Linked DNA regions of Homo sapiens: region 2 is linked to region 1. Evidence: promoter capture Hi-C in 16 types of primary human blood cells and fetal thymus (Javierre and others, 2016). All regions are on one chromosome and are shown on one strand. Each heading gives the region's core, a stretch centred on a gene start or on the middle of the fragment in contact. The rest is flanking DNA. Distances are from core to core; before and after follow the strand shown.

Evidence for each region. Contacts are between HindIII fragments. The CHiCAGO score rates a contact against its expected background, and 5 or more counts as called.
Region 2: a fragment that was not itself captured here is called in contact with the fragment with the promoter of GOLM2 in region 1 in 3 of 17 cell types (erythroblasts, megakaryocytes and endothelial precursors); the score reaches 10.0 in erythroblasts.

Annotation. Positions count from the first base shown.
Region 1 is chr15:44,287,171-44,291,845 of GRCh38, forward strand. GOLM2 (golgi membrane protein 2) reads left to right here and starts at 1,549. Exons shown (of 10, transcript NM_138423.4): 1 at 1,549-2,186. The coding sequence starts at 1,860. RefSeq lists enhancers at 608-1,514, 896-965, 1,361-1,655 and a silencer at 1,466-1,825. The HindIII fragment of the contact is 5,453 bases long and covers 854-4,675 here.
Region 2 is chr15:44,545,665-44,550,251 of GRCh38, forward strand. The region is part of intron 2 of EIF3J (eukaryotic translation initiation factor 3 subunit J); the gene reads left to right. Among named protein-coding and RNA genes, the nearest start is that of EIF3J, 11 kb to the left of the region's middle. The HindIII fragment of the contact is 1,478 bases long and covers 840-2,317 here.

The sequences.
Region 1 (4,675 bases), core at 299-2,798:
CTGAGAGTGGAGAGGATTTGTTAGATCTTATGAAGCCAGAGCTCACTTCTGATGTGAACCAAGTATTAATAATTTTGGTGGTGGTTTTCTGTACTGCATCTGAGAGAGTAATCATTGTTCTTTGAAGATGCAATAATTCTACGCTACTACGGGACTTAGGGAAATAATTTTTGAGGATAGGAAGCACAGAATAATTAAGATGACAAGTCTTCCTGCCTCAAAATCATATCACTCTGATTCGAATAAAAAATACCAAGGTTTTTCCTTCTTGAGGTTTTATACTCATGGAAGTTCTTCAACCTGAGGTCTGAAAAATAAGGCAACCCCATCCTCTCCTTAAACAGGTTAGAGCCAGTACCTTTTTATTTCTCTATGCACGGACAAAATAATTATGCAAAAAAAAAAAAGAGGCAGGTTTTGTTTTTTTTTTTGCACTACTGAAATTCACACTTAACATATAAACAATCTGCTATATGCAGACAGCACTGGTGTTTAGAGTTCAATGATCTGGATTCAAGCCTATTTAAAACCAGATAAGAGAAAGTTCCCAAACATCTATGTGTCTTGGATTCTTCATCTGTAAAATTGCGTTGTTGAGAAGATAATATGAGACTAGGCGCGCAAAACAATTTGTTAGAGCTATTATTTCTAACCCGGAATGTGTTCGCTGGCAGTAACAGTGCATTAGTTACGATTCATCGAGGGCAGCTTCTGGACTTTCTGTTTGGAAGCCCAGCTGAGGCAAAAGCAGCAGTGCGTTTAAAAATTGGAGCTCGCCACATTCTGAAATTCTTTCGGTTCGTGAAAGCAGTAACCTAGGAAACGAGACTGGCACCACCCCTTTCAGTCCTAAAGCTTGGTTTCTCCCGCTTTTCTCCATTATGTTTAGGGCATCGCTATTTTACAGTCTTTTTGTTTTTTCTTTCCACATCATTAGCACAAAAGAGAAATTCCCCTTCTACAGAAGCAAGTACAAAACCTTTCTAGTCGCTCCTTTTTGGCAGCAGCTCACCTACTATTTTTTTCTATTCCGCGGTCGCAGCCCCAGACGTCCTCAAAGACAAATATTTTCGCGAGGGCCAGTGTAGGGCAGGAACTCCCTAGGCCTTGAATCAAGGGAATCCAGTAGATAACAACAGAAAGGACTCCGACCCAGGTACCTGAGACATCTGAGACCGCCAAAATTAACACAACACCCTACGCGACAGAGAAAACTCTGGGCGGGGAGAGAGAAAGAGAGCGAGCGAGCGAGAGAGAGAGAGAGCGAGAGAGAGAGAGAGAGAGAGAGAGAGAGAGAGAGAGAGAGAGAGAAAGAGAGCGAGCGAGAGAGAGCGAGAGAGCGAGAGAGCGAGAGAGCGAGAGAGCGAGAGAGAGAGAGAGAGAGAGAGAGAGAGAGAGAGAGAGAGAGAGAGAGAGAGAGAGACGAGAGGAAGCAACGTTCTCGCGACAAGAGGGGTGTCGACGGAAACTCGGAAATGGTCCCCTAGACGACCCGGCCCCAGCTAGTGGGTGGGGCCAGGGTACATCCGCCCCTTTCCGGTTTTTTTCCCCGCCTCCCAACCGTGAGGTGTTGGGTTTGGGGGACGCTGGCAGCTGGGTTCTCCCGGTTCCCTTGGGCAGGTGCAGGGTCGGGTTCAAAGCCTCCGGAACGCGTTTTGGCCTGATTTGAGGAGGGGGGCGGGGAGGGACCTGCGGCTTGCGGCCCCGCCCCCTTCTCCGGCTCGCAGCCGACCGGTAAGCCCGCCTCCTCCCTCGGCCGGCCCTGGGGCCGTGTCCGCCGGGCAACTCCAGCCGAGGCCTGGGCTTCTGCCTGCAGGTGTCTGCGGCGAGGCCCCTAGGGTACAGCCCGATTTGGCCCCATGGTGGGTTTCGGGGCCAACCGGCGGGCTGGCCGCCTGCCCTCTCTCGTGCTGGTGGTGCTGCTGGTGGTGATCGTCGTCCTCGCCTTCAACTACTGGAGCATCTCCTCCCGCCACGTCCTGCTTCAGGAGGAGGTGGCCGAGCTGCAGGGCCAGGTCCAGCGCACCGAAGTGGCCCGCGGGCGGCTGGAAAAGCGCAATTCGGACCTCTTGCTGTTGGTGGACACGCACAAGAAACAGATCGACCAGAAGGAGGCCGACTACGGCCGCCTCAGCAGCCGGCTGCAGGCCAGAGAGGGCCTCGGGAAGAGATGCGAGGATGACAAGGTAAGGACGACCCTTTTCTCTTCAAACCCCATGGTTTCTTTTCTCCCCGGGGTCTGGGGCGGGATGTTAATCCGCTAGCTGTTGTCTTATGCCTTCCAGTATTTCAGTCCTGAAGGCTCCTTTCACCCCCAACAACCCTGTTTCTGTCAGACTTTTCCCAGTTTATCAGTGCCACGTTCTCTGGTCCCTGCCAGAAAAAAATGACTGTAAATTCTGGTTCTCAAGAGTGGACTGTGTGCAGATGCTGCCTATTCTCTAAGCTCAGCTGGTGAGTTGGCAGTAGTAATCATCTGGCCTGTGTGGCCCCCTTACCTTCAAAGACACACAAATCTGGCGACTGCCAGGTTTGGTGTGGTTATTGTCTCATTTTTATTCCGTGCACACTGATCAATATTAATTTCGTTATTTAAAGAACGAAGCCGCCTCTGACTCCTCTACTTATGGTAGTCATCATATATTTTTTAAGCTGTGTGACTTTTAAAATCTCTATAGGGTGATGTATTGAATAACTAAATAATCAGCTATGACTGCCTTTTTGTGATCAAAATGTTATGATAGATGGGCCCTCGAGCTATATGTGAGACACACTTGTGTCTTGGACATAGTTGATCCATCATTATCTACTCAATTTGAATTGTTAATGAAATCAGCCAAAAGATTAGAATCTGAAAATAAATTTTAAGCAGTGGAATGTCATGTCAGTGTCTTCATTGAAAGAAAATAGAATGAAATTTTGTATAGCTAAGTTGCTATTAGGGTTGGTGTTTTATGCAGATGGAAAACTATACAAAGTTTTAAATATAAAAAGTTTAAAATTGAACTGTAATCATACTTGCTACTAAATAATCCTTGTTTTCATTAGCTCATTGGTAACTATATTAATAGTTTATGACTTAGCAACTTCTGTAGGTATAGTAGAGTTATGAAAATTTCTGGGCAGGATAGTAGATGCCTTTCTATACACTTCTTTGGTAATCTTCACATTTTTGTGTGTAAATGCCCATTATAATTACAAGTTTTACTTTGCATATCAAAATCACTTAAGGGTAAGTCATTATGAATTAAACTGTCTGTGAGCTTCTAACTTTCCTGTTGACAGCCTCTACCTGGCTTTCTTATTTCATGAAGATTAAGGCCCTCAGCTAAGTGCTTCCCTATAACCCCCTCCTCTTCACCATAACATAGACATGCTATGATAGGGTCAAGGAATCAGTACATTTATATGTGCGCTGCATGCTTAACTCTAAAGACTGAAAAACTCTCGGGCAGAGTAGGTAGAAATCCATGAAAGTTTGGAGTATTAAAGTAAGGTCTTCCTACTTGGCATGGTTGAGCATTACAATTCACATTCTTCTCTCTGGTCTCAAAGGAAAGTCTCTTGTTGTAATTAATACTCTTGATTCCATTCTTTCATCCATTGGACTTTTTGTTGTTGTCGTTGTTGTTGTTGTTGTTGTTTTTTGAGACGGAGTTTTGTTTTTGTTGCCCAGGCAGGAGTGCAATGGCGTGATCTCAGCTCACTGCAACCTCCGCCCCCCCGGGGTTCAAGCAATTCTCCTGCTTCAGCCTCCTGAGTAGCTGGGATTACAGGCATGCACCACCACGCCTGGCTAATTTTGTATTTTTAGTAGAGAAGGGGTTTCTCAATGTTGGTCAGGCTGGTCTTGAACTACCAACCTCAGGTGATCCGCCCGCCTCAGCCTCCCAAAGTGCTGGGATTACAGGTGTGAGCCACCATGCCCAGCCTCTTTTTTTTTTTTTTTTTTTAAAGAGACAGGGTCTCATTGTGTTGCCCAGGCTGGAGTGCAGTAGCTGTTACACAGGCATGATGCACTATAGCATTGAAATCCTGAGCTCAAGTGATCCTCCTGCTTCAGCCTCTGAGTAGCTGGGACTGCAGGTGTGCACCACCTTGCCCAGCTCTACTGAACTGTCTCTTTCAGTTTGTTTCACTTTTTACCTTCAACAGTATGTGGGTGTCCCCTGTTCTCAGTAAAGGAAAAAAAATCTGTATATTCCTTTCTCCCAACCAACCCATTTGTTTTTTCACTTTCATTGCTAAAGTCAAATTATTGATGGTCTACAAATGTTCCATCTACCTATTTTTTCATAACCATCCTAATCTTAAAATGTCTGCCATCTTTCTTTCCTCCCCTTTTTTGAAACTATTCTCTTGAAGGTCACAAATGGCAGTCTTCCTAGTCAAAACCAAAGAATATTTTTATTCTTACTGTATTTGACCTCCCAGTAGTTTGATCCTGTTGATTGTCTCTAGCTATTTGGAAACTATTTTCTTTCTTGCTTCTGTTATACTGGACTCTCCAGTCTTATCTTCTTCACTATATTCTTTGCTGGATTTATTTTTTCTTTCCAGTCACCTAGTAAGGGACTCTGTTATTGAGCCTTTGCTCTCCCATAAGAGCAGTATTCCCCAAAGTAGTGTTAAACAGAATACCCTTCTTGTAATATTTCTTAGGTGGTGAGGAGAA
Region 2 (4,587 bases), core at 329-2,828, 260 kb after region 1:
ACTTTAAACATTTATCATTTCTTTGTGGTGTTAACATTCAAAATTTTCTTATGGAACTATCTTGAAATATATAACATTGTTATTAGCTATAATCACCGTACTGTGTAATAGAACACCAGAACTTATTCTTCTAACTGTAACTTTATACCTATGACACTTTAAAGAACTTTGGTCCATTCAGAGCAGGTCCCTTAGTTTTTCACTGAGATTGTGGGTTGGCTATGTCTGGGCCTGGGTTTCCTTTTCTTTAAAATGGGGGAATAACACTACCTTCTTACAGGACTGTTGTGAGAATTAACCTTGTTACTACACCTGTTTCTCAGAAGGGTTTTAAATATGCATCTTCTGGAAGTAAGCAAATGGTCCTCCTATCTGAAACACTGCCCCCTATCACTCACAGATCCAGCCTTCCTGTGTTCTGTGAAGATTTAAACAACAAAAAATGCCTAGTAATTCACTTTTATTTTTAGCTCTTTGGTTCCTTTTGTACTGTGATGTATAGCACTTAGCAAACTAACGGCGAAATACAAACGTTTGATCTCTAATTTCTAACTCTAGTATCACAGTTACTCAAATAATGACTAGCTGGTTTGCTTTCAATCTGTTAAAACTGCGAGCTGTGGGTTAAATTGCTGAAGTAAGATGAATATAAAAATACACTTACTTTTTAATACAAAGTTCCTTTAATTATGCTTGCAGACTGTATGACAGCCTTAATCAGGATGTTGAATTTTTAATTTCTTTACTGGACTTAGAGATTTTTATTAAGAACCAAGGCTTGGTTAGTTTATATTCCTAGACTGATACAAATTTGTGATCTGTCGTGTTATGAAACCAGAAGCTTGGTGTCATATTGTGGCATATTAGTCATACTAGTCAGCCTTTGCTTCTTTAGTAGCATCAGGGCCTCTTGCCCTGCTTTTGCCATCTTGCCACTCAGCTTCAAATGGCATGTCATAGTGTGCCTGGTGGCTGCTGAGACAATGGCCAGGCTACCTATGATTAAAGCCATCTTTAATCATAGGGCTGTGTCTGTCCCTATTAAACTTGAGCCTTCTAAGTTCTGTGGAGCTTTTAGAAAATTGTGTTTGATAATTGGTTTATATTTAGCTCAATGATTGAGTTAGGCATAGAAAAAACAGAGTATAGATCTTTTTTTTTTTTTTTTTTTTTTTTTTTTGAGACAGAGTCTCTGTTGCCTAGGCTGGAGTGCAGTGGCTCGATCCTGGCTCACTGCAGCTTCGCCTCCTGTGCTCAAATGATTCTTGTTCCTCAGCATCCTGAGTGGCTAGGATTACGGGCGTGCACCACCATGCCCACCTAATTTTTGTATTTTTTAGTATAAACGGGGTTTCATCATGTTGGCCAGGCTGGTCTCGGAACTCCTGGTCTCAAGTGATCTGCCTGCCTCGGCCTCCCAAAGTGCTGGGATTAAAGTGCCCTGAGTTAGAGAGTGGGATCCATGAAGGCTTGATTAGCTGTTGACTTTTTTTTGTGAGACGGAGTTTCATTCTTGTTGCCCAGGCTGGAGTGCAATGGCGCGATCTCGGCTCACCACAGCCTCTGTCTCCTGGGTTCAAGCAATTTTCCTGCCTCAGCCTCCCGAGTAGCTGGGATTACAGGCATGTGCCACCACACCCAGCTAATTTTGTATTTTTAGTAGAGACGGGGTTTCTCCATGTTGGTCAGGCTGGTCTTGCATTCCCGACCTCAGGTGATCTGCCTGCCTTGGCCTCCCAAAGTGTTGGGATTACAGGCGTAAGCCGGCCTTGATTCTTTTTTTTTTTTTTTTTTTTTTTTGAGACGAAGTCTCGCCGCACTGTCACCTGGGCTGGAGTGCAGTGGCACAATCTTGGCTCACTGCAACCTCCCACTCCTGGGTTCAAGTGATTCTCCTGCCTCAGCCCCCAAGTAGTTGGGATTATAGGTGTCTGCCACCACGCCCAGCTAATTTTTTGTATTTTTAGTAGAGACAGGGTTTCACTATGTTGGCCAGGCTGGTCTCAAACTCCTGACCTCGTGATCCGCCCACCTCAGCCTCCCAAAGTGCTGGGATTACAGGCATGAGCCACGCACCCGGCCTGACTCCTTTTTAATAGTGGGCTTTAGAATTATATAGACTTAATTCATTAACCAGGCTTATGTTGTATGGAATACTACTTGAAATAAATGAGCTATTGGCCAGAGTATAGGATGCTTTTTACATTTGGGGGGAAGTAAGAACTATAAAGTTCTCTCAGTTTTTATTTATTAATAACTGAATCACTTTCAGAGAGGCTATTGATTTCAGCTAGGTTGTCCTAACTGCTAATGGAGAAGCTTTCTTATGAAGTTAGATAAGTTGATATGAGGGTTCATATGGAAAAACAAAACATGCAAGAAAGGCCAAGAAAACACTAAAAAATCTGAAAACCTACAAGGAAGGACTAGCTCTAGCTGACATTAAAGTAAAGCCTCTGTAATTAAAACAGTACCGGCTGGGCATGGTGGCTCACGCCTGCAATCCCAGCACTTTGGGAGGCTGAGGATCACCTGATGTCAGGAGTTCGAGACCAGCCTGGTCAACATGGAGAAACCCCGTCTCTACTAAAAATACAAAAATTAGCCCGGCATGATGGTGGACACCTGTAATCCCAGCTACTCCAGAGGCTGAGGCTGGAGAGTCACTTGAACCCAGGAGGCAGAGGTTGCAGTAAGCTGAGATCGCGCCATTGCACTCCAACCTGGGCGACAAGAGTGAAACTCCGTCTCAAAAAACAAGACCAAAAAAACCCAGTATGGTACCGTTATATGGAGAGACAGTAGACTAGTGGGATAGGATCAAAAGCCCAGAAATAGACCAAGTACATATGAAAATTTAGTATATGGTAAGTCACAAGGTATCTTAAAATGTTTTTTGCTGCAATAGAATGCAATAGACTGGGTATTGTATAAACAACAGATTTATTTCTTATGGTTATGGAGGCTGAGAAGTCCAGTATCAAGGTGCTGGCATCTGGCGAGGGCCTTCTTGCTCTATTATCCTGGGGCAGAAGGGCAAAAGAGCACAAAGGATTGCAGGAGGTGTCAGAACTCATCCTTTTATCAGATATCTACTCCTAATATAAAGGTATTAATAATTCATTCATGAGGGCTTTGCCTCTAATCATTTCTAAAAGACCCTACTTCTCAACACTGTTGGATTGGAGATTTCATCACATGAACTTTGGAGGACACATTCAAACCATAGCCCAGGGAAAAAAACCATTATTTATTAAAGGGTTTTTAATAAATGATGCTGTGACAACTGGGTAGCCATTTGGGAAAAAAATGAAATTAGATCCATGTTGCATATCATAACACAAGAAAAAAACTCCAAATCAGAGATCTAAATAAAAAAAAAAATGAAACCCTATACATTCTAGAAGAAATTGTGGGTGAATTCTTAGGTGTAAGAAAAGACTTTCTGGCTGGGCGAAGTGGCTCATGCCTGTACTCCCAGCACTTCGGGAGGCTGAGGTGGGCGGATCACCTGAGGTTGGGAGTTCGAGATCAGCCTGACCAACATGGACAAACCCCATCTCTACTAAAAATACAAAGTTAGCCAGGCATGGTGGTGCATGTCTAATCCCAGCTGCTTGGGAGGCTGAGGCAGGAGAATTGCTTGAACCCGGGAGGTGGAGGTTGTAGTGAGCCTAGATCATGCCATTGCACTCCAGCTTGGGCAACCAGAGCAAAACTCCAACTCAAAAACAAAACAAAACAAAACAAAACAACAAAAAAACAAGAAAAGACTTTCTAATTGACTTGAAATCCATCCAGAGGCAATGAAAGAAAAGACTGGGGCTAGGCACGGTGGCTCACGCCTGTAATTCCAGCACTTCGGGAAGCCGAGGCGGGCGGATCATGAGATCAGGAGTTCGAGACCAGTGTGACCAACATGGTGAAATCCTGTCTATACTAAAAATACAAAATTAGCCAGGCATGGTGGCATGTGCTGGTAATCCCAGCTACTCGGGAGGCTGAGGCAGGAGAATCACTTGAACCTGGGAGGCAGAGGTTGCAGTGAGCTGAGATCGTCCCTGTATTCCAGCCTGGGCGACAGAACGAGACTCCGTCTCAAAAAAAAAAAAAAAAAAAAAAAAAACCATTTCTACTAAAAATAAATGAGCCAGGCATGGTGGTGTATGCCTGTAATCCTAGTTACTGGGGAGGCTGAGGCAGGAGAATCGCTTGAACCTAGGAGGTGGAGGTTGCAGTGAGCTGAGATCGTGACATTGCACTCCAGCCTGGGCAAGAAACTCCGTCTCAAAAAAAAAAAAAAAGTCTGGTAAATTTTATTGCATAAATTTGTTGGGATGCATAGCAATTCATGGGGAAACAATAGAGGCATTTCCATCAAGAAAGCAAGGATGCCCATTACTTCTGCTGCTGTTCAACATTGCACTAGAGGTTTAGCTGGCCCAATTAGGTAAATCACTTGTGAGGGCCTAAGGATTGGTAGAGAAGTAAAGCTATCTTTTGTTTGCAGATAAGGTAGCATACCTGTAAAACCCTAGAGAAGCAACGATAAATCTAACTTAAGTGATAAATGAATTCAGTAAGGTA